Linked DNA regions of Homo sapiens: regions 1, 2 and 3 are each linked to region 4. Evidence: promoter capture Hi-C in 16 types of primary human blood cells and fetal thymus (Javierre and others, 2016). All regions are on one chromosome and are shown on one strand. Each heading gives the region's core, a stretch centred on a gene start or on the middle of the fragment in contact. The rest is flanking DNA. Distances are from core to core; before and after follow the strand shown. Region 1 has its middle 4.2 kb from the start of LAMP3. Region 2 overlaps YEATS2 (YEATS domain containing 2). Region 3 overlaps LAMP3 (lysosomal associated membrane protein 3). Region 4 holds the start of MCF2L2 (MCF.2 cell line derived transforming sequence-like 2).

What was found. Contacts are between HindIII fragments. The CHiCAGO score rates a contact against its expected background, and 5 or more counts as called.
Region 1: a contact is called between a fragment that was not itself captured here and the fragment with the promoter of MCF2L2 in region 4, in 5 of 17 cell types (M0 macrophages, M1 macrophages, erythroblasts and 2 more). The highest score is 10.9, in M0 macrophages.
Region 2: a fragment that was not itself captured here is called in contact with the fragment with the promoter of MCF2L2 in region 4 in 5 of 17 cell types (M1 macrophages, erythroblasts, activated CD4 T cells and 2 more); the score reaches 5.9 in M1 macrophages.
Region 3: a fragment that was not itself captured here is called in contact with the fragment with the promoter of MCF2L2 in region 4 in 8 of 17 cell types (M1 macrophages, M0 macrophages, M2 macrophages and 5 more); the score reaches 15.5 in M1 macrophages.

What each region holds. Positions count from the first base shown.
Region 1 is chr3:183,164,119-183,169,784 of GRCh38, forward strand. No RefSeq gene overlaps it. Among named protein-coding and RNA genes, the nearest start is that of LAMP3, 4.2 kb to the left of the region's middle. The HindIII fragment of the contact is 1,208 bases long and covers 751-1,958 here.
Region 2 is chr3:183,711,978-183,717,671 of GRCh38, forward strand. It overlaps YEATS2 (YEATS domain containing 2), which reads left to right. Exons shown (of 31, transcript NM_018023.5): 2 at 3,167-3,285; 3 at 5,674-5,694. The coding sequence starts at 3,186. Among named protein-coding and RNA genes, the nearest start is that of YEATS2, 17 kb to the left of the region's middle. The HindIII fragment of the contact is 4,440 bases long and covers 1-3,950 here.
Region 3 is chr3:183,139,862-183,146,377 of GRCh38, forward strand. LAMP3 (lysosomal associated membrane protein 3) reads right to left here. Exons shown (of 6, transcript NM_014398.4): 4 at 677-734. Among named protein-coding and RNA genes, the nearest start is that of LAMP3, 20 kb to the right of the region's middle. The HindIII fragment of the contact is 630 bases long and covers 3,661-4,290 here.
Region 4 is chr3:183,423,789-183,430,070 of GRCh38, forward strand. It overlaps MCF2L2 (MCF.2 cell line derived transforming sequence-like 2), which reads right to left and starts at 4,831. Exons shown (of 30, transcript NM_015078.4): 1 at 4,114-4,831. The coding sequence starts at 4,189. RefSeq lists a silencer at 4,581-4,660. The HindIII fragment of the contact is 2,747 bases long and covers 4,102-6,282 here.

The DNA.
Region 1 (5,666 bases), core at 105-2,604, 260 kb before region 4:
GTCCGGCTAATTTTTTGTATTTTTAGTAGAGACCAGGTTTCACCGTGTTGGCCAAGCTGGTCTCAAACTCCTGACCCCAGGTGATCCGCCCGCCTCGGCCTTCCAAAGATCTGGGATTACAAGCGTGAGCCACTGTGCCTGGCCCCAGGTGGTTTTACAGACCAGAAAATCCTGGAACAAAAAACACACAATATCGTTTTTTTTTTTTTTTTGGAGTCAGGGTCTCGCTCTATCACCCAGGCTGGAGTGCAGTGGCGTGATCTCGGCTCACTGCAACTTCGACCTCCTGGCCTCAAGTGAGTCTCCCACCTTAGCCTCCTGAGTAGCTGGGACCAAAGGCGCGTGCCACCACGCCCAGCTATTTTATTTTATTTTATGTAGAGAGGAGGTCTCGCTGTGTTGCCCAGGCTGGTCTCGAGTTCCTGGCCTCAAATGATCCTCCTGCGTTAGCCAACCATTGGGATTACAGGCGTAAGCCACGGCCCACGGCTCAACAACGCTGACAGGCAACCTTTTAATGTCTTATCTCCTTCCTCTATTAATTGGATTGTCTGTCAAAACAACGATGTTTTGACAGGGCTTGAGTCCCAGTGGGGAATACACATTTAAGCAGTATATTAGGAGACCCTCCTTATCACTAGATTGAGGGCTTTCAGCCTAGCCTCAAATTATTTTCTGAAAAATAACTTTGGCTACAACTATTTTGTCTTACTATGTTGCTCCAAACACTAATCAAGTAAACTTAACCAAAGCTTGCAGTGTGTTTCAGAATGGAATTTTTATGGTGAAAAGTGAGGGTTAACTTGTGCCAGTCAACCTAGTTTCAGCAACTACCTGCTTTCTGATCTTTGAGACAGTTTATTCAAAAGACGATAATTAAGTGGGTATAGACTGTGTGCCAGGCACTCTTCTTATTCCATTTAAGCGCCATAGCCACTCTATATGGACACTGTTGTTATTATCGCTGCCCCATTTCGCAGATGGAGAAACTAAGCACAAAGAAGGGAGTTGCCCAGAGTCACTTAGATAATAAATACCGAAACCTGACCATAAATCTTGTCTGCCTTGAGAGTCTAGGATTTTAAGCACATAGCCGGGCGCAGTGGCTCACGCCTGTAATCCCAGCACTTTAGGAGGCCGAGGCGGGCGGATCACGAGGTCAGGAGATGGAGACCATCCTGGCTAACACAGTGAAACCCAGTTCTATTAAAAATATAAAAAAATTAGCCAGGCGTGGTGGCAGGTGCATGTAGTCCCAGCTACTCGGGAGGCTGAGGCAGGAGAATGGTGTGAACCCAGGAGGTGGAGCTTGCAGTGAGCGGAGATCGCGCCACTGCACTCCAGCCCGGGCGACAGAAGGAGACTCCGTCTCAAAAAAAAAAAAATAAATAAAATAAAGCTGCTCCTCTTACCCTGGAAATTCCAAGGGATTTAGGAGCTCTGTTTCAGGAACCAGGGTCAAAGACCAAGTATTAAAACAAAAGATTCTCCTAGAACTCTGGCATATAAGGATTTTAGGAGCTCTGTCTTAGAAACTGGGACAGAGACCAAAGATATATTATTATATCGCAGTATCATAGTTTATTATTTTCAAAAAACGTTTTCTGGCTGGTACAGTGGTTCATGCCTATAATCCAAGCACTTTGGGAGGCCAAGGTGGGAGGGTCACTTGAGGCCAGAAGTTCAAGTCCAGCCTGGGCAACACAGGGAGACCCTGCCACTATTAAAAATTTTTTAAATTAGCTGGGCATGGTGGCACATGCCTGTAGTCCCAGCTACTTGGGAGGCTGAAGCAGGAGGATTGCTTGAGCCTGAGAGGTCAAGACTGTAGTGAGCTGCGATCAAGCGACTGCACTCTAGCCTGGGTGACAAAGCCAGACCCTGTGTCTAAAAAAAAGAAAAGAAGAGGAAAAAAAAAGGTTTTTATTTCAACTAAGTTGTTGGATTTATTAGCATAAAGCTTTTCATAACAATCCCTTGTCTTACAATATCTGTAGTATAGGTAGTGATGTCACTTCTTTTATTACTAATATTAATAATTTGTATTTTCTCTCTTATTTCCCTGCTAATATTAATAATTTGTATTTTCTCTCTTTTTTCCCTGATAAGTTTGGCTGGAGGTTGATCAATTCTATTCATGTTTTCAAGAAAAAAAAAAAAATTTCATTTCATCGAGTTCCTTCATTGTTCTTATGTTTTCTGTTTTATTCATTTCTACCTGATCTTTATTATTTTCTTTCTTCTACTTAACTTGTGTTTTATTTGCTCCTCTTTCAATAGTTTTCAAAGATGGAACTTGCCTGGGATATCCCAGCACTTTAGGAGGCTGAGGTGGGAGGATCACCTGAGGTCAGGAGTTCAAGACCAGCCTGGCCAACATGGTGAAACTCCGTCTCTACTAAAAATACAAAAATTAGCTGGGTGTGGTGGTGGGCACCTGTGATCCCAGCTACTCGGGAGGCTGAGGCAGGAGAATCGCTTGAACCCGGGAGGTGGAGGTTACAGTGAGCTGAGATCACGCCACTGCACTCCAGCCTGGGTGACAGGAGCTAGACTCTGTCTCAAAAAAAAAAAAAGAAAAAAAAAAAGATGGAAGTTGAGGCCAGTGGTATAAAATCTTTCTTCATCTCTAATAAACAGGTTTACTGTTATGAACGTCCCTCTAATTACTACTTTAGTTGGATCCCACAAGTTTAATATGTTTTCATTTTCATATAATTAGAAAGACTTCCTAATTTCCTTTTGCTATCTCCTCGACTCATGGTTATTTAAAATAGCATTATTTCATTTCCAAACATATAGTTTTTCAGATATCTTTCTTTTATTGATTTTTAATTCCACTGTGGTTGAAAACATAATTATGGACTTAAATCTTACAAATTTATTGATATTTGTTTTTTGACCAAGACTATGGTTGGTTACATTAGTTTTCAGGACTGACATAACAAAGTGCCACAGACTGGGTAATTAAACCACAGACATTTGCTTTCTTATAATTCTGGAAACCAGACATGTGAGATCAAAGTGTCAGCCGGGTTGGTTTTTTCTTTTTCCTTTTTTTTTTTTTTTTTTGAGACAGAGTCTCTTTCTGTCACCCAGGCTGGGATGCAGTGGTGTGATCTCGGCTTACTGCAAATTCTGCCTCCCAGGCTCAAGCGATTCTCCTGCCTCAGCCTCCCGAGTAGCTGGGATTACAGGTGCCTCTCACTGCACCTGGCTAATTTTTGTATTTTTAGTAGAGACGGGGTTTCACCATGTTGGCCAGGTTGATCTCAAACTCCTGATCTCAGGTAATACACCCGCCTCGGCCTCCCAAAGTACTGAGATTACAGGCGTGAGCCACTGCACCCGGCCCGGGTTAGTTCTTTCTAAGGCCTCTCTCCTTGGCTAGTAGACACCTTTGTTTCACATGGTCATCCCTCTGTGCATGCCTTTGTCTGTCCTAATCTCCTCTTCTTATAAGGACATTAGTCAGGTAGGATTAGTGCCTACTCTTTGAACTCGTTTTACCTCTTAAAGACCCTATCTCCGAATATAGTCACATTCTGAGATACTTGGGGTTAAGACTTGTATTAGTCCATTTTCACGCTGCTCATAAAGACATACCTGAGACTGGGAAGAAAAAGAGGTTTAATTGGACAATTCCACATGGCTGGGGAGGCCTCAGAATCATGGTGGGAGGCGAAAGGGACTTTTTACATGGTGGCGGCAAGAGAAAATGAGGAAGAAGCAAAAGCAGAAACCCCTGATAGATAAGCCCACCAGATATCATGAGATTTATTCACTGTCATGAGAACAGCACGGGAAAGACCAGCCCCCATGAATACATTACCTCTTCCTTGGTCCCCCCCTCCCCACAATATGTGGGGATTCTGGGAGATACAATTAAAATTGAGATTTGAGTGGGGACACAGCCAAACCATATCATTCTGTCCCTGGTCCTTCCAAATCTCATGTCCTCACATTTCAAAACCAATCATGCCTTTCCAATAGTCCCTCAAAGTCTTAACTCATTTCAGCATTAACCTAAAAGTCCACAGTCCAAAGTCTCATCTGAGACAAGGCCTTCCGCCTATGAGCCTGTACAATCAAAAGCAAGCTAGTTAGTTCCTAGATACAATGGGGGTACAGGTATTGGGTAAATAAAGCCATTCCAAATGGGAGAAATTGGCCAAAACAAAGGGGTTACAGGGCCCATGCAAGTCTGAAATCCAGTGAGGGAGTCAAATTTTAAAGCTCCAAAATGATCTCCTTTGACTCCAGGTCTTACATCCAGGTCACGCTAATGCAAAAGGTAGGTTTCCATGGTCTTGGGCAGCTCCACCCCTGTGGCTTTGCAGGGTACAGCCTCCCTCCAGGCTGCTTTCATGGGCTGGTGTTGAGTGTCTGCAGCTTTTCCAGGCACCCAGTGCAAGCTGTCAGTGGATCTACCATTCTGGGGTTTGGAGGACAAAGGCCCTCTTCTCACAGCTGCACTAGGCAGTGCCCCGATAGGGACTCTGTGTGGGGGCTCTGATCCCACATTTCCCTTCTGCACTGCCCTAAGAGGTTCTCCTTGAGGGCCCCACAGCTTCCACCCTCTGAACCATAGCCCAAGCTATGCATTGGCCCCTTTCAGCCATGGCTGGAGCAGCTGGGACAGAGGGCACCAAGTCACTAGGCTGCACACAACATGGGGACCCTGGGCCTGCCCCACAAAACCCCTTTTTCCTCCTGGGCCTCCAAGCCTGTGATGGGAGAGGCTGCTGTGAAGGTCTCTGACATGGCCTTGGAGACATTTCCCCATGGTCTTGGGGATTCACATTAGGCTTCTTGCTACTTATGCAAATTTCTGCAACCAGCTTGAATTTCTCCCCAGAAAATGGGTTTTTCTTTTCTGTCACATAGTCCGGCTGCAAATTTTCCAAACTTTTATGCTCTGCTTCCCTTATAAAACTGAACGCCTTTAATAGCACCCAAATCACCTCTTGAATGTTTTGCTGCTTAGAAATTTTTTCCACCAGATACCCTAAATAATCTCTCAAGTTCAAAGTTCCACAAGTCTCTAGGGCAGGGGCAAAATGTGGCCAGTCTCTTTGCTAAAACATAACAAGAGGCACCTTTGCTCCAGTTCCCAAAAAGTTCCTCATCTCCATCTGAGACCACCTCAGCCTGGATCTTATTGTCCATATCACTATCAGCATTTTGGGCAAAACCATTCAACAAGTCTCTAGGAAGTTCCAAACTTTCCCACATTTTCCTGTCTTCTTCTGAGCCCTTCAAACTGTTCCAATCTCTGCCTGTTACCCAGTTCCAAAGTTGTTCCACATTTTCAGGTATCTTCAGCAACGTTTCACTCTACTGGTAGCAATTTACTGTATTAGTCCATTTTCACACTGCTGATAAAGACATATCTGAGACTGGGAAGAAAAATAGGTTTAATTGGACTTACAGTTCCACATGGCTGGGGAGGCCTCAGAATCATGGTGAGAGGTGAAAGGCACTTCTTACGTGGTAGTGACAAGAGAAAATGAGGAAGAAGCAAAAGCGGAAACCCCTGATAAATCCATCAGATCTCATGAGACTTATTCACTATCACGAGAATAGCATGGGAAAGACCGGCCCCCATGATTCAATTACCTCCCCCTGGGTCCCTCCCACAACACATGGGAATTCTGGGAGATACA
Region 2 (5,694 bases), core at 481-2,980, 290 kb after region 4:
TCTGGCTAATTTTTGTATTTTTAGTAGAGATGGATTTTCACCATGTTGGCTAGGCTGGTCTCGAACTCCTGACCTCATGATCCGCCTACCTTGCCCTCCCAAAGTGCTGGGATTACAGGCATGAGCCACTGCACCCGGCCTAAATTGTTATTTTTGTTTTAACTTTGAGTGAATACAAAATGAGTATTTTTGAGTTAGCATTTTATGTTCTTTTATTTTATTTTATTTTATTTTATTTTATTTTATTTTTTGAGACAGAGTCTCACCCTGTCTCCCAGGCTGGAGTGCAGTGGTACAATCTCGGCTCACTGCAACCTGCCTTCTGGGTTCAAGCGATTCTCATGCCTCAGCGTCCTGAGTAGCTGGGATTACTGGCATGAGCCACCATGCCCAGCTAATTTTTTTGTATTTTTAGTAGAGACGAGGTTTCACCATGTTGGCCAGCCTGGTCTTGAACTCCTGACCTCAGGTGATCCACCTGCCTGAGCCTCCTAGAGTGGTGGGATTACAGGCGTGAGTTACCGCAGCCAGCCTAATTTTATTTTAAAACATGTTGTTACCTCAGTAATTCTGCCTCTGGCTAGGGAATCTTCCTTAGTGGTAGAACAGAGATTTGGAAATCAGAGAGCTATTCTGGTCTCTTTCATAGATTAACACTGTAAGGGATAATCTAACCACCCTGGACCTGTTTCCTTATCTTAATCAATAGATCCAGGCTGCGAAGAAAGGGAGCCACCAGCCACAAGTAGTTATTGAGCCTTAGGATTGTGGCTAATACTAATACAAATTTTTTTTTTTTTTCGAGAGAGTTTTGCTCTTGTTGCCCAGGCCGGAGTGCAGTGGTGTGATCTTGGCTCGCTGCAACCTCTGCCTCCTGGATTCAAGTGATTCTCCTGCCTTAGCCTCACAAGTAGCTGGGATTACAGGAGCCCGCCACCAGGCCCAGCTAATTTTTGTATTTTTAGTGGAGACGGGGTTTCACCATGTTGGCCAGGCTGGTCTGGAACCCCTGACCTCTAATGATCTGCCTGCCTCAGCCTCCTAATGTGCTGGGATTACAGGCGTGAGCCACCTTGCCTGTACATGGCCTGTACAGGCCGCTAATACAAATTAAGATGTCCTGTAAGTGTAAAATACACACCAGATTTTAAAAACTTGGTAAAAATATAACGTAAAATCTAATTGCTGATTTATTTATATCAATTACATTGTTGGGGTGATAATATTTTAGATATATTGGTTAGGTAAAATATATTGTTAAAATTGGTTTCACCCATTTCACTTCCCTTTTTCAAACGTGGCTGTGGCTGGGCACGGTGGCTCACACCTGTAATCCCAGAACTTTGGGAGGCCAAGGCAGGTGGATCATGAGGTCAGGAGTTTGAGACTAGCCTGGCCAACAAGGTGAAACCTTGTCTATACAGAAATTACAGAAATGAGCTGGGTGTGGTGGTGCATGCCTGTAATCTTAGCTACTCAGGAGGCTGAGGCAGGAGAATTGCTTGAACCCGGGAGGCGGAGGCTGCAGTGAGCCGAGATTGCACCACTGCACTCCAGCCTGGGCAATAGAGTGAGACTCCGTCTCAATCAATCAATCAATCAATAAGAAACCTGGCAGCTAGAAAATTTAAATTCTGTACGTGGCTCATGTTATATTTTTATTGGACAGCACTGGTCTGGATGATATTTCTGAAACTGACTCATGAAATATGTATCATTGCTTAATGAAGCACTTTGGAAGAGGAGCACTGTCCAATAAACTCGTGCAGTGATGTGAATGTTTCGTATCTACACTGAACAATGTAGTTGCTACTAGCTACGGTGACTCTCGAGCACTAATTTTTTTGAGACGGAGTATTGCTCTGTCGCCCACACTGGCGTGCAGTGGCACGATCTCGGCTCACTGCAACCGCTGCCTCCCGGGTTCAAGCAATTCTCCTGCCTCAGCTCCTGAGTAGCTGGGACTGCAGGTGCCCACCATTATGCCCAGCTAATTTTTGTAGTTTTAGTAGAGATGGGGTTTCACCATACTGGCCAGGCTGGTCTCGAACTCCTGACCTCGTGATCCATCCACCTTTGCTTCCCAAAGTGCTGGGATTACAGGCATGAGCGACCACACCCGGCCCATAATTTTAAATTTTTTTAAATTTTAATTTAAACAGCCACATAAGGCTAGTGGTTAATGTACTGAGACAGTAAAGGTCTAGAGGATTTATGGGATTTTTTTTTTTTTTTTGAGATGGAGTCTCGCTCTGTCTCCCAGGCTGGAGTGCAGTGGCGCGATCTCAGCTCACTGCAAGCTCTGCCTCCTGGGTTCACGCCATTTTCCTGCCTCAATCTCCCGAGTAGCTGGGACTACAGGTGCCTGCCACCATGCCCGTCTTTTTTTTTTGTATTTTTAGTAGAGACGGGTTTTCACCGTGTTATCCAGGATGGTCTCAATCTCCTGACCTCGTGATCCGCCCACCTCGGCCTCCCAAAGTGCTGGGATTACAGGCGTGAGCCACCGTGCCCGGCCGGGATTTTTTTTTTAATGGGATTGTTTTATTCAAAGACTTGTGTATGTGGGGCTTGTTTACCGTATTGCAGACTTGTTAATTAGTTTAATATAAGTCTATAGATTTGTGTTTATTGTAATAATGATCAGTAATAGTGATACCTGCTAAGTACCAGAGAAAGGATCTGTATAATCAATTATTTATTGAGCCTTTAACTATGTTGCTTATATTTTCTAATATGCTGAATGCTTAGTGAATTCTAAGACACTGTGTGGGCTAACCATGTTTTCATCAAAGTCTGGTTCCTTTCCTTTCCTTATGAGGGCTCTTCCATGAAAGCCAGGCTCCTTTTGAAAAGTCTGAACAATGTGCTACTTTGTTCAAGGATTTTTCTCTTGAAAGGGAAACCCATGCTTGTTAACAGATGATTATGATTTCTTTTTTTTTTTTGGTGGAAACTTTTAAACTTAGGCTTTTGGCCTTAAAAGAAATATGTATATGTGTGTATATACACATACCCACAGACTTGCAAGTACCAGTATTAATGTAATATTTATTTATTTATTTTGTTTGTACACATATATTTGTAAGTACTGGTATGCAGTGTTACTACAACCCAACTATTTAACTGAATAATTAAAAATTATTAATTTATCATTGCTTCACAGTGAAGAACTGAATGTCATCATGTCTGGAATCAAGCGAACCATCAAAGAAACCGACCCTGATTACGAGGATGTATCTGTGGCCCTTCCAAATAAGCGGCATAAAGCAATTGAGAATTCAGGTAGAAATCCTGCCTTAGGAAATTATTTCTTTATTGACATATGCCTCCGCTAGAAAACTTACAGGAACTAGAATGAAATGAATTTCCACTGTTATGTATAATTTGAAGGGGTTCGTGAGAGAGATTAGCTAAGGGATCTGTTTAATAGTAATACACCATGTGTGCTGTAAAAAGTGGAAGAAGATCTGGCAGGAACATGATCAAGCAGACAGTGAAAGCGAGACAAACTGTGAGTTTTAGCGATCACTGTATGTTAGGTGTAATCATAAAGTCTATGATATGTATAAAGGTGTGCTATAATCGTGAGATGGTCATAGATGGTACATGGATTAAGGTTTTTAATTTTAATAGGTAACATTTTAATGTATATAGAAAAAAGAATGATCTCATCAAACTTGTAGTTCCATAGCTACAAGGATAAAGCTAAAATTATTTTTAAATGCTTGTTAATTAAATGTGTCATATGGTTCTCAGATGTGGTAGCTATCTTGAAGGCATATGAATGGTAGAAGATTAGGAAACATCGATCTAGTTCAACCCTTGTACTTAGCTAATAGTAGATAAATTAAGGTTCAGAGACATCAGATTACTTACCTAACATATATAAGTAGTTGAAGAGCAAATCATCAACTGGGTGTCTGTTGTTCCTCAGAATGTCTTAAGCAAGCTTAAAAAAATTGCTAACTTTACTTTTTTATTTATTTATTTATTTTTTGAGACAGAGTCTTGCTCTGTCCCCCAGGCTGGAGTGCAGTGGCGTGATCTCGGCTCACTGCAAGCTCTGCTTCCCCGGTTCGCGCCATTCTCCTGCGTCAGCCTCCCGAGTAGCTGGGACTACAGGCACCCGCCACCACGCCTTGCTAATATTTTGTATTTTTAGTAGAGACGGGGTTTCACCGTGTTAGCCAGGATGGTCTCCATCTCCTGACCTCGTGATCCACCCGCCTCGGCGTCCCAAAGTGCTGGGATTACAGACGTGAGCCACCGCGCCCGGCAACACTAAATTTACATTATTAAAACAAATTATTACTGAACTTCATTAATGTTTATTTAAATAATCTACCTAAGTTAATACTTTTAACAGGGTAAAGAAGGCGTCAGTCATAGCTCAGATGTTGCAGTTCCACATAGGATCCGTAGAGTGGAAATGGTGAAGAAAATTCCTATTTCTGTAAGAGCAGTGAAGTCCTACGTATCCCCAGAAAATCTGTATAGAAGGAAAATTGTTAAATCCAATCCCAAATAGTGAAAACATTTTGCTGCAACTTTCCCTCCTCATTCAGCTGTAATTTTAGAGGAAATACCGTTTCCTTTCAATTACAAGCCAAATAAATGTTAGAGTGTTATGTAACTTAATTCATTACCCAAGAGCTTCACATGGCATAACTTTTTAAAATAAAAACAAGAACAGGGAAAAGTGATTGTTTTAATAACACTGAAACTCAGTTTAAATTGAATGTAAGTTCCAAAATACCCCCTTTCAAGCAGGGGCAGTTTTTTGTTTGTTACTGAGTGACAATCTGCTATTCTTTTTCTTGGTGTCCATGCTCTACCTAATGCTAACCTTTCTCCCCCCACCAGAATTTTTCTCAAAGTAGATTTGGTGGGATGCTTCTCTTTGCATATGTTATTTTGTTTTGTTTGTGTCTTTTTTTTTTTTCGCTCTGTCACCCGGGCTGGAGTGCGGTGGCACGATCTCGGCTCACTGCCACCTCTGCCTCCCAAGTTCAAGCGATTCTCCTGCCTCAGCCTCCCAAGTAGCTGGGATTACAGGTACCCCCCACTACGCCCAGCTAGTTTTTGTATTTTTGGTAGAGACGGGGTTTCACCATGTTGTCCAGGCTGGTCTCAAACTCCTGACCTCAGGTAATCCACCTGTCTGGGCCTCCTAGAGTGCTGGGATTACGGGTGCGAGCCACCATGCCTGGCCCCCAGTGTTGTATTTTATAGCTATTTCCCTCCCCGCAGGATCCAGTCCAGGACATACAGGGCATTTAGCTGTCATATCTCTTTAGTCTCTCTCAGTCTCCTCAACCCTTTCCTTGTCTTTCTTTCTTGTCTTTAATATTTAAATAGAATAGGCCAATAATTTTATAGAATGTCTTTCAGTTTGAGTTTGTCTAATCTTTCCTTGTGAGTAGATTCAGCATTTTTGACAGGAATACCATAGAATGGTGTCTTTTTAGGGCATGATACTAGAAAGTACACGAGATCACTTTACACCAATATTAGTGGTTTCAGTTTTTCATCACTTGGTTAAGGTGATGTCCACTAGGTTTCTCCACTTTAGAGTTACTATTTCTTGGATTTCTTTTGTTGCTTGCTGACTTAAATAAAGACAGTCACTGATTAATTAGGCCTTGGATGTATTTTATGTTCTTTGTACAGCTCGAGATGCTGCTGTGCAGA
Region 3 (6,516 bases), core at 2,726-5,225, 280 kb before region 4:
GGGCTTGGCACCTAGCAGGCACTAACTACATTTTAGTAGAATGAATGTATGATTCCCAGAGTATAGAATAAGCTGCACTATCGACAGCAAATCTGTCAAAAAGCCACTAAACTCTTTATTGTTGCCAATCATGATCTCTGACGTAATCTAGTCCAGCCTCCTTTATGAGCAGATGGGCAAATTACAGCACACAGAGGCGTAGTAAAGTCCCCCAAAATCACATTGCTGGCTGCTTTCTCAGTCTGTTCCTTAGAAGCAGCATCGGCCGGGTGCAGTGGCTCACGCCTGTAATCCCAGCACTGTGTGAGACTGAGGTGGGTGGATCGCCTGAGGTCAGGAGTTTGAGACCAGTCTCGCCAATGTGGTGAAATCCCATCTCTACTAAAAATACAAAAATTAGCTGGGTGTGGTGGCACACGCCTGTAATCCCAGCTACTTGGGAGGCTGAGACAAGATAATCGCTTGAACACGGGAGGCAGAGGTTGCAGGGAGCCGAGCGAGATCGTGCCACTACACTCCAGCCTGGGAAACAGAGCAAGACTCCATCTCAAAAAAAAAAAAAAAAAAAAAAAAAAAAAGCAGCATCAAACATGAGAAGATTCAATGGGATGAAAGGTGAGCTAACCAACAGAAACAGCGTCATGGCTGGTCGAATGGGCATTCTGTAATTACTAACCTGGATCTGAGACGGTCAAATAGGCTCCCACTTCACTGATATAATATGATTCTTCATCCTGTAAAACAGTAGGGTGTTAACCTTTGGGTTATCTCTACTCATATGTTTACAATCTTGGTTTATAAACTTTGTTTAAGATTCCAGCTATTAAATCTGGATATAAGGGCTGGGGAGTTACTTGGTACTGGGTCATAATTGTGTATGAAAATTCCAAAAAAGTAAACATACCACAAATAAATAAATAATAACTAACAGTTTTCCCCTGGCCCCAAATTTCCCTACTGCATACTAGTTGCTAGGGCCTGGTATTCAAATTCCACCAGTACAATTTGAGTCCCTTCGGTTGGGCCAAATTTCTCCCTGTTAAAATGCAAGTCCATTGGGAAGATGGAGGAGCAGGAGCATATATTAAGTGTTTACTAGCAATTAATATCTAAGGGTAGGAATTCTTATCCTGAGACCACTCATCCTTTCCTTTTATTTTTAAGACCTTCCATCTGGCTTAGAAGGCTCATCCTTAAGGATACCATGGGAGGACCTCCCGGGGTCCATAAACCCTCTGGGAAAAACAATGTATACAAAATGGTGTGTACATGTTCTTATGTAGGGTGTGAATGGCTTTACACAGATTAATGGGTCTATGTCTTCAAAATGGCTAAATGGGGCCAGTGGGAGGGATTATGGGAAGACATGCCTTACCCTGAGATCCCTGGGTATTCTCTAGAAGAGAACCCCAAGTGGTTGTATTTAAAACCTAAAGCAGCACCCCCACATTTCATCTAGGAATTATCTTTCCAGAAAAACAAAAACAAACTACAAAACAGCCCTATAAAAACAAAGGGTCTGAAACCTTCTAGGGAACTGAATTGGGGTGTAGAAGGGTAAGTTGAAAAGGGAGTTTCTATTTTTTAATTGAGGTGATCCACAGTGTTCTCAGTTTTAAACATTCCTTAGAAAACCATTTACAAGTTAAGAGATGCAAAAATGGCAGAGCAACCCAAATCAAAACCTGAAATTGAATTACTTTTAGAGGTTTCAAATATAGTCATTAGAGAAACTTAACAATACTAATCTTGACCACATTATAGCTCATTTGTGTATTAGTGGATAAAATGTTGATTCATTATACAATCAAAGGGTTCCATAAATAGAAACTGTTTTAGTAAGGTCATTGATACTGATACACTGAGCTCTAGATCCTACAATTCATTGAATAGCACCTACCACACAATAGCTTCTTACCCCGTGTTAGGCACTGTCGCAGGCACTTCCAAGCACTTGCCTTATTTAATCCTCACAATAATCATGAGAGAAAATGAGGCTGGGTGACTTGCTCCAGGTCACAGCCCTAAGAGGTGGCAGGGGAAGATATGACCTCCAGCTCTGCCTGCCTCAAGTCTAGCCTTTAACGTCTCTTTCATACCCACTCCATGCCAGGGATTGTTCTTGGTCCTGGGAGAGGACCTGGTTGCCTCCGTCAAGGTGCTCAGTCTCTTGGTTCTTGAAGGCAAGTTGAACAATGCCTTTAGACAATCCATTTGCTTTAGGGAGAAACATCTCTTTTAAAAAGAGACCATCTTTGTGTTGCTTTAATATACCATTTATTTGGGGCATTTTTAAAATTTGGAGCCTCTTTTAATATAAGAGAGACTTATATTTCAGGGTCCACAGTCCGGGTTACAAGGCCCCCGCCCCATCCCTAAGGGCAAAGAGCGTCCATCGAAGGGTTTTAAGCAGGGCAGTGACATGAGCATAGCTTTGTTTTTGTAAATGGCTCGGGCTGCACTGTGAGATTGATTTGAGGAGCAGCAGAATAGTGATGAGGTCAGCAAAGACTCCTCAGAGGCCTCTTGGAATCTTCCCTTTGGTGTCTCCCTGACCTGTCCCTCCTAAAGGAAGAATGCTTGGCATTTCTGTGAGAGTTTCAGAATTCGCCACGTGCATGCTTTCACTGACATTGCCTCACTTGATCCTTACAACGACCCCGAGACAGAATCGATATTAACAGACCATTTTACAGCTGAGAACAAAGAGGCTCAGAAGAGTTAAGCATCTACCGCAGATGCATGTAGTTTGTAGGTGAGACAAAGCAAGATCCTGCCCTACATTTTCCTCCATGGGATGTGTGGGTATAGAACAAAAATTCATTATGTGAGAATTTACTTTCACATTCCCTGAAATGCAGCTGAAACCTATAACCATTGATGGGAAGCAGGACTGGCTACATAATGAATTTTTGGGGCTTAGTAAAAAATGAAAGTGCCGGGCCATGTGTTCAAAAATCAAGAATTTCATGGGGCAACAGCAAAGCATGAAAACAAGTCTGAGCCCTTCCGGATGCACAGGCAGAACACCTGTGAACCCGTCCCTGATGGGCAGGGCCACTGCTGTTCCACAAGAATCTGCGCTTTCTAGGGCTAATCAAAAAATGAGGCCTTCCGTAAGCAGGGTGCTCACATTCACTCTGAGTTCATCTTAAGGACACACAGGACAGAGTCTGGAAGCTGTACTCAGAATTCTTTCCATTTTGACTGAGTCAAAATTAGTGAAACATTGACTAGGACTAAGCTGATGTCTAGCTTTTTTTTTGAGTTGGGGTCTCCCTCTGTCGCCCAGGCTGGTGTGCAGTGGCAAGATCTTGGCTCACTGCAGCCTCAACCTGCTGGGCTCAAGTGATCCTCCTGCCTGAGCCTCCCAAGTAGCTGGGACTACAAGCACGTGGCACCACAGCCAGCTAATTTAAAAAAAATTTTTTTATAGAGATGGGATCTCACTATGGTGCCCAGGCTAGTCTTGAACTCCTGACCTCAAGAGATCTTCCCTACTTGACCTCTCAAGGTGTTGGGTTGACAAGGAATGAGGCTTGAGGTATAAGCTACTATGTCTAGCCATGATGTCTATCTTTAGAGTAAAGGAAAAGTATCTGTTAGGTGGATTCATGTAAACAAAAGGACAGGGGGATATTTAGTTTTCTTAAGATTACAAGCTTGACTTGACATGATCATACTTCAATTGTCCTACACATCTCTTCTGACTCACCCTTTCCATATGGTATTTAAGCCCTGGGTCTCAGGGTTAATGGCGTGGGGATATACCATCTTGTCTCATCACCATTCAAGACAGACATGGCTTCTGTTCATACATCCCTATTAAGTGTCTCTTTCCAAGAAAAAAAAAGATTCCAAGTTTTACACAATTTATGCTATGGAATGAGGCTTAGACAATTGTACCACTTTATTCTGTAGAATTGTAGTGTTACTGAATATTCTTAAAGGAAATAAAATCGTCTTTGGTAAACTTTTTTCCAGAAATATTTTAGGCTCTGTGGTCCTTTGTTAATCCGTCAAGGAACCTTAACATCCTCCTTAGCAAAACTGTGGGTCCACCAACATGTCTACCTTTCTGCAGACATACGGGGGTCTGGCACCAACCAGCCCAATTCATCCTGCCCAGGACGCCAGCATGCCAATAACCATGGGGTCCTAAGGTCCCCCTGTCCACTTCTGCAAAACACACCGTGGAAGTTTCATAGTCCCAGCTGTTCAGGATGTGGATTTTGTCTTCAGCATCAATCATGTCCTTTTCGCTCAGCATTGTTGTGACTAAATCAAGAAAGCTTTGTTCTGGACATAGCAAAAGGAACCTGTGATCTACTTTTTGGCACTTTGACCCAGAGTTCTCTGCAAAATTTAGATTTTCTCCTTCATTGATACATTTGTTTATCAAACATTGCTAAAGATATACTATATGCGAAGTCGGGGTGAGCACTAGAGAAGAGACGTGAAGGAGCCATAGACTTTGCCTTGGGGATGGCAAAATGTGTGACAAGTGCATTGATGAAGTTTGGGGAACAATGAATAGAGTTTCAGGGAACTAAGAGGAGGAAGTCTCTCATTTTACCTGAAGTGGAAGTGGGGAAGGGGGAATTTCACAGGGTGATGATATTTGAGTTATTTTAAGGATGGATGCTAAAGGAGCTGAGGGGTGGGAGGGGCCTTCTAGGCAGAGGGAAAAGTACCAGGGGAAAAAGAGCATGGAAAGTACAGATCACTTGGGGAGTTCTAAGTGTGCACTGTGAGGGTGTCAACACTTGAACACTGGTCACAGTCCTCAGAAGCCCAGCTCGTAGGCCAAGAGGGTTCCAAATGCCCCTCAAAGGCTCTGGAGACCAGTTTGAGCAACATAATGAAAACCTGTCTCTAGAAAAAAATACACAAATTAGCTGGGCATGGTGGCATGTACCTGTAGTCCCAGCTACTCAGGAGACTGAGAGGTGGAGGATCACTTGAGTCCAGGAGGCTGAGGCTGCAGTGAGCCTGATCGTGCTACCACACTTCAGCCTGGGTGACAGAGGGAGGCCCTTTCTCAAAAAACAAAAAAAGCTCTGGGGAAACAACAGGTGGGTCTGCAGCATTGATTCCAGGACCTCAGTCGGCCAGTGCACTGCCTGACCCTCGCACCTCTCCTCTCTTGATGGTTGATTTCACGAGCCAGGGCTGGAGACCTAGAGCTGCCCGGCCAAAGGGGTGGAGGAGAAAGGGATAGTCCTGTGCACAGAATGAAGTTACTGCAGAATGTTTTAAAAGCAACTATCCCACCAGGAAGGATGTTGTAGGGAGGTGTGGGGAGAGATGCATGTGATCTTGAACTGGAAGGGTCTGAACAACTTTCAGCATGTCACCCTAACCAAATGAGACACTGACAGGGAAAGGTTTTCAGTTCTTTAAAAAATGAAACTGCGGGAAAAAAAGAAAGGAAATCCACCTCTCCTGACCCCTCTAGGGGCCAAATACCACGCTGAACACTTTTACATTCTTTAGCTCAGCACACTCTCATGGCAGCCCAGCAAAATAAGCACTCGTTGGCTCCATCTTATAGAAGAGGAACTGAGGCTCAGAGATCATGAGCAGCCTGTCCATGGTCACAAAGCGAATGATATGGATAATTTGCCTTGATTGAACAACAAGGTTAAGTGACTGATTTTTCTTTATGTTGTTGTCATTGGTAGTATTTCAATTTAAAAAACTACAAATTGGGCTGGGCACAGTGGCTCACACCTGTAATCCCAGCACTTTGGGAGGCCGAGGTTGGGCGGATCAGCTGAGGTCAGGACTTCGAGATCAGCCTGGCCAACATGGCGAAACCCCGTCTCTACTAAAAAATACAAAAATGAGCAGGGTGTGGTGGTGCACACCTGTAATCCCAGCTACTCGAGAGGCTGAGGCAGGAGAATCACTTGAACCCAGGAGGCAGAGTTTGCAGTGAGCCGAAATCATGTCATTGCACTCCAGCCTGGGCGACAAGAGCAAAACCTGGTCTCAAAAACAAACAAACAAACAAAACCCTACAGATTGAAAGCGGGAACTATAGCCTATATTTCTGTTATTTTTCTTTCATAGCCAAGCTCATTGTTAGGGACAAAGTAGGTGCTCAGTAAATTCTTACTAATAAACGAGTTGATAAATCAGGCCTAATCAACATCCATTTATCATTCTACAACTTAGCTCTCATAACATCTATTATATTATAATGAATAAACTCACATTTTCTAAGGTTCTCTTTTTCTCTAGAGCTGTGGTTTTCAACTGCACATGATTTTTGCCTCCTAGGAGACATTTGACAATGTCTGGAGACATTTTGAGTTGTCAGACTGGGGTGGGCAGTTGCTCCTGACATCTTGGAGATAGAGGCCAGAAATGCTGCTGAGCATTTTTCAAGGCACAAGGTAGTCCCCACACAAAGACTTATCTGGCCTCAAATGTTAATACTGTTGCTGTTGAGAAGTGCTGGTTTAGAAAGCAGCAACATTTCAAAAGCGACTGACTGAATGGTTGAGTCCA
Region 4 (6,282 bases), core at 3,581-6,080:
TCACCACGCCTGGCTAATTTTGTATTTTTAGTAGAGACAGGGTTGGTCAGGCTGAACTCCCGACCTCAGGTGATCTGCCTGCCTCGGCCTCCCAAAGTGCTGGGATTACAGGTGTGAGCCACTGCGCCCGGCGACATGGCCCATCTTGATGACTATGGGTTTCTAGTTATTGGAAGCCCCCATGTGAGCCATATGTGCCCTGTCTATCAAAATCCTAGAGCAATCTGAGATGCATTCATAGATAGTCCATGTTACTTAGACAGCACACCTCCACATATAAATAGCAGTACAGCAAATTTGCAGATATTTCAACAACCGAAAAGGGATAGGATGAGGAAAATCAAACAATATTTTTCTGACACTGAAATTCTGTAAACCAATGTGACTCTATGGTCCAGAATCAAGGGGAAAGGATGGTCCTACATGTGTCCTGCATGGATGAAAACACATCTAGACATGTGTTCACATGTGAACTGCATATTTTATAAGAGTTCCTGACTAATGGACAAAATCCAAAGAAAGAGGCCCCTAGAGTGAAGCACATCACATGAGGAACACATGAAGGGCTTCATGTTTACTTTCAAATGGGGTTTTGGAGACAAAATAGTTATCTACAAATATTTTATAGCTGTCCTTAAAAGTGTAAAAACTGCCTGGTACTCAATACTCCAACTCCATTCCAAAACACAATCATTCATCTATTCAGCAAACATTTATTCTGCATCTCCTTAGAGTGAGGCCCTGTGTTAAGTGGCTATCTAGGGTACATAAGACTCTTCGTAAGTAATGAAGAGTCTAGAAGCAGAGCAGGTTAAACAAGCGCACGAATAACCCAGTAACCATAATACAGGGGAGAGTATGATGGGCACAATGCGAGCAGAACAAAGCTTACTTTGGAATTCAGAGTCAGGAGTCATCATGTCCCACCAGCAAGATCAGAAATGATACCATGAAGGAGATGGCATTGTATTGGGTTTCAAAGGTGTGTACTATTTCTGTGAGAAATATACTAAAGACTTATTCCAGGTGGGGGGTAAAAGTGCAAATACTTAGAGGTGAGAAAAGGTCTGGAAAACATAATGGGACAGAGCCAAAGAACTGAAGAGTTCAAGTTGTCCAACCATAGGTGTAGAAATCTCAACTATTAGGGGATAAAGCTAGAACTTTATAGGCCAAACAGTGAAGAGCTTGTATCTTAGGCTGCAGAGAATGACTAGGTGCAGGTATTATTAAAGGCTTTGGAATATAGAGTGTCGTGTTTGTTTGGCTCGTAGTATACATCAGAGGCAGACACAGAGAGACAGGAGGTTTGCACAACGGCTAGTTAAAAGGAAATGAAGTCCTGAAGTAGGATTGAGGCAGGCAGCAGTGGGGATGGACATGAGGAAAGAAAGCTGCGAGGTGTTTCTGAAACTGAATCAACAGCAGCCAAGACACTTATGGAAATATGGGAGTGGGTGAAGAGAGATGACTCAATTACCAAGTCTAAGGGACATGGAAAGAGCAGAAACCCCTGCTGGAGGAGAAAGTGACTCAGGGTCAGAGGAGGCCGAGTGAATACGGAAGACAGTGTGGCTACCCTGGCAAGTGGCTAGGATAGGACCCGGAGAATGTTCCAACCCAAAGCCTTGCTCCAAGCACCTCTCAAACCTTCCCCAACTCATGATCACCTCCTCAGAAGCTACTTGATAAGGAAATACCTGAAAAGAACAGGCAAGCATAGAGCCAATCTACCCTTGAGAAGCTCCACTGGCTACCCAAAGTGACCCTCCGTGAAGGCTGAGGCTGTTGCAGGGTTAGAGAAACGCCCGCTCCACCTTGAGGTCCCCCAGTAGGGGATATGAAGAGCTACCTTCCTGCCCTGAGCCTGCCACTCACTCCCCCTGAAACCTTAAAAGATGATCCTCTCTCACTTTGGGAGGCCAAGGCCAAGGCAGACGGATCACCCGAGGTCAGGAGTTCAAGACCAATCTGACCAACATGGAGAAACCCGTCTCTACTAAAAATACAAAAAAAATTAGCCGGGCGTGGTGGCACATGCCTGTAATCCCAGCTACTCGGGAGGCTGAGGTAGGAGAATCGCTTGAACCCGGGAGGCGGAGGTTGCAGTGAGTCGAGATCACACCATTGCACTCCAGCCTGGGCAACAAGAGCGAAACTCCATCTCAAAAAAAAAAACAAAAAAGATGATCCTCTCTGAGTCAATTCCTTCATTTGTAAAATAGGGGTAGTAATGAGTACCCCACCCATTTCACAGGTTTTATTAGATTAAGTATGAGGAGACAGAATCTTGCAAAGCACACAAAAGCCAAGGGTCATTAGAGGTTGAAAGGAGAAACTACAACAAATTCCTATGTGTATCCTGCATGGAGCTGTCTATAGAAGGAGGGAGGGAGCAAGGTAGGCAAGAAAATACCATAGCCTGGGCGCCACAGGCAGCTAAGTGTTAGTCAAGGAATACTGCCTGCCAGATTTTCAAGAAGAGCCTGCTCCAGAGAAATAGGAGGGACCTTTAAAATCATCCAGGTCAACCCCTCGTTTAACAGATGGGAGGCTTCGCCCTGAGAGAGGCCCAGTAACCCACCAAAGATCTTTAGTGGCGTGACAGAGGGACCAGGGATATGTCTAATAACTGAAATGTCTGTATAATCACAGTGTACACAGTATTTCTACCCAAATTATCTTACTTATCTTCACAAGTAGCCTTTGAGCTGAGTGGGAAAGTACTATTAAAATTCCTATTTTTCAACCTGAGGTCGAATGACTTGTCCAGGGAAAGATTCAAATCCAGACGGTCACACCCCGAGTCCACTGCTCTTTCTCTATACCACAACTTCATGCCTGTGCTGGGTTTTAGCACAATCATTTCAACTTTCATCATATTGCAGATTCCGAATTCTGTTTCATTACAAGTTCTTTTTCCTCTTATTTCACACTGCCTTCAGCAATATTTCACATTCAACCTTACCTGGTAGGATCCTACTGATCTTTTGTCGTAAAAGTTCAGTGCCCACAATTGGCACCAGAAACTTTTTTCTAAACTTGAATTATCAAAACTGGGCCTTCCCATATAAATCATCTTTACAAAGTATGTCCTCACAAGTGTATCATTTGAGATGTGCACGATTATTACAGCAAACACGTTGGACTAATTGAGGCAACATTTAACATGCAAGTACCAAGAAAGCAGCTTTCACAAATGTGTAGAAAACCAAGGCAAATAGTTCCTGGCTTTATCAATAAAAGCTGATTTGCATTCATGGGAGGACCTCCAAGCACAGTCAGCAACAGAGAAAATGATCCCGATAATTCCAGTTGCCCACATCCAGAGGTTCTGAACCTGAATGTGTGTCTTTACTGAGGGAGGTCCAGGGAAGGCCAAGGGGAAGAAAGTGCTAAGAAAAAACTGACTGGGAACTGTCTCAATGTCCTCTTGCCCTTACTTAGTCTGTGGGGCCTGACGTTCCATCACAACCCTTATTTCAGGAGCAAGCAATGCATGTTTTGCTCCTCTTTTCAACTCAGGGAAGAAGATTAAAATTGCTCAGTCTCCTTGGCTTGCAGAGATTTCTCGCGGGGATCATCAGGGGTGTGCTTAACCCTCCAGGCAGCACAGTAAAACAGGCCTAGCGGCCGAGCTGCGCAGGGGCGCTCCCATGTAACCTGCCTCTCCCTGCACTTTCTTATAAACAAGCCTTCAGTGGCGTGGCAATCATTTCTGCTGAAAAGCACTGGCATTCGTTCCTCTTATGCCCTCTCCTTTCTCACTATCCCCAAAACCAGAACATAACTTCCCACCCACCCTACTCCCGTCAGAAGCAGCTAACGGATGGTAACAGCCCAGCAGCCCTCGGTTTGGAGCTCAACGGACTCGGCAACCACCTGGTGAAGGCACCAGCCTCGGCCCCCCGACCCCCACCAGCGGCGCGCCCCAGGGATGCCCCCCGCTGGGCACCGCAGGCAGGACCCAGAGCAGCGAGGCCCAGATGCCGGGCAACCCCCCAGGAAGCGCGCTGCCCCGGGGCAGCGGGTGAGGCCAGGAGCCAGATGAAGCCCAGAGACCATCCTCACCCGCCATTAATAAAACGCAGGAAAAATTAAAGCTTCGTTTACCGACATGAGTGATCACTGTGGCCAGTCGCCGGGTGAGCTCCTGGGGAGGCATCTCTTCTTTTAAGCAAGACAGCATTTCACTGAAAAACCATTCCGTATAAATAAAGCCAAACAAAACTGTTTCTACCGCTGCGGTGGATGATTTTTTAAAGGCATCTCCGCCCAAGGATGCTCTGCCCTCGCCCTCTTCCTGGCTCTCCAGGCAAGAAACGAGAGTCCCTCGCAGCCTAGGCCAGCTCTCCCTCGCCACGCCCCGCGGGGGCTCCCGTGACAGACCAAGTCTGGCGCTTTCCCAGCGTCGCAGCTGGACCGAGAGAGGAGCGGCCGTTCTGCAAAAGGAAGCAAGTCGCCAATCTCGCCGGAACCGCGCCCCGGCTCCTCCGGCCGGGCGAGCTCCGGGGCTTCCAGAATCGCGGTCCCGGCCGCCAGGTTTCCGGCGCCGCCTCCAGGGACTGTAGAGTGAGGGATGCTCCGCCAGGTGCAGGGGAGGCGGCAGGTGGCCGTGGCTTCTCTGCGCCGCCGGCCCCACGCCCCAGCGCCCACCTCGTCCAGCCCACGGGTGGCGCCCGGGGCTCTCGGGGAGGCACGCACGCTCCCAAGCGCCGCTCGTTTTGGGGTCGGGAACGCTGCGCACCTTTCCCTGCGGGGAGCCCGCGCTCCACCCCCGGAGTGGAGCTCCGGTCCTTACTCGGAACCGTGGGGCGGGGAGACAGTGACTGAGGCGCTCCAGTCGCACCGGGGTCCGGATCATCAGACGCGCGCCGGCCAGGTCTCCGCCCCTCCTTCTTCCGCGCCGGGTGTCTGCGGAGGAGCCGCGGAGAGAAGGGGGCTGGCCCGGAGAGCTGCCGCCATCCGGCAGGACCCGGAGCGGGAGGCTGGGTGAGGCGCCGCTGCTTGCCCCACCTCCTGACCCCGGGGGCGGCTGGCGTGTGTTTTCCCCCACTTGGGGTTGTTCCACGCAGTTCTTGACCTCCGCTGGCCACACCTGCACTGGGAGCCCGGCGCCCGGGCTGCGCTCCGACAAGGCTGAGCACGCGTGGGCGCGCTCACCCCCTATGTGGGCGTTTTCCTTCGTGCAGCTGCGCCCTTGCCTCTGCTCCGTCTGTCACCTGTCAGGCACGCCAGTGCTACCTTCTGGAGGGGCTGTGGCACATCCTCCATGCTGGTCCTCCTCCCCATCAGCCCATTATCCCGTGGTTTCCCTAGTTGGGCCCAGACACTTTCTGACTGGCAGCAAAAGACTAACCCCAGTTCAGCAGAGCGCTACGGGAAACGCCTGAGCAAATGCGAATTCGGTCAGGTTGTCCCCCAATCCTTTCTACAGCGGGAGTCCCTGAATACTCAGCAGGCGGAATGGCGGGACCACCCAGGCGGATGTTCTCAGCCATCTCTTTCCTCTTCGATATGTAAAAAGCCAAGCCGCAAACACCCTGGATCCAAATTCTAGGAGTAGCCACCCATCACAGGGGGCTGAGGGTATTTTTTTAATGCTTTCTCTTTTCTTCTTTTTTTTGGAGACTGAGTCTGGCTCTGTCGCCCAGGCTGGAGTGCAATGGCGCGATCTCAGCTCACTGCAAGCTCCGCCTCCCGGGTTCACGCCATTCTCCTGCCTCAGCCTCCCGAGTAGCTGGGACTACAGGCGCCCGCCACCACGCCCGGCTAATTTTTTGTATTTTTTAGTAGAGATGGGGTTTGTTTCACCGTGTTAGCCAAGGATGGTCTCGATCTCCTGACCTCGTGATCCGCCCACCTTGGCCTCCCAAAGTGCTGGGATTACAGGCGTGAGCCACCGCGCCCAGCCCTTTTTAATGCTTTCTCTAACAATTGTGGGCTGTGATTGAGAAGCGAGGTCAGTTCACCTGTGTCATGAGATTTGTGGAGAGGTTCTTCCCCCTGTGAAGTTTGGGCACTTTGCACTCTGCCTGCAAAACAGAGCAAGGATTTTCTTTTTCTTTTCTTTCTTTTTTTTTTTTTTCGTTTTTAGAGATGGAGTTTCACCATATTGCCCAGGCTGGTCTCAAACACATGGACTCAAGTGATCATGCCCGGCCACTGAGCAACCATTTTCACAACCACCTTTTGCAAGAGATTCAAAAAAGGGTTAAAAGGCCGGGCGTAGTGGCCCACGCCTGTAATCCCAGCACTTTGGGAGACCAAGGCGAGCGGATC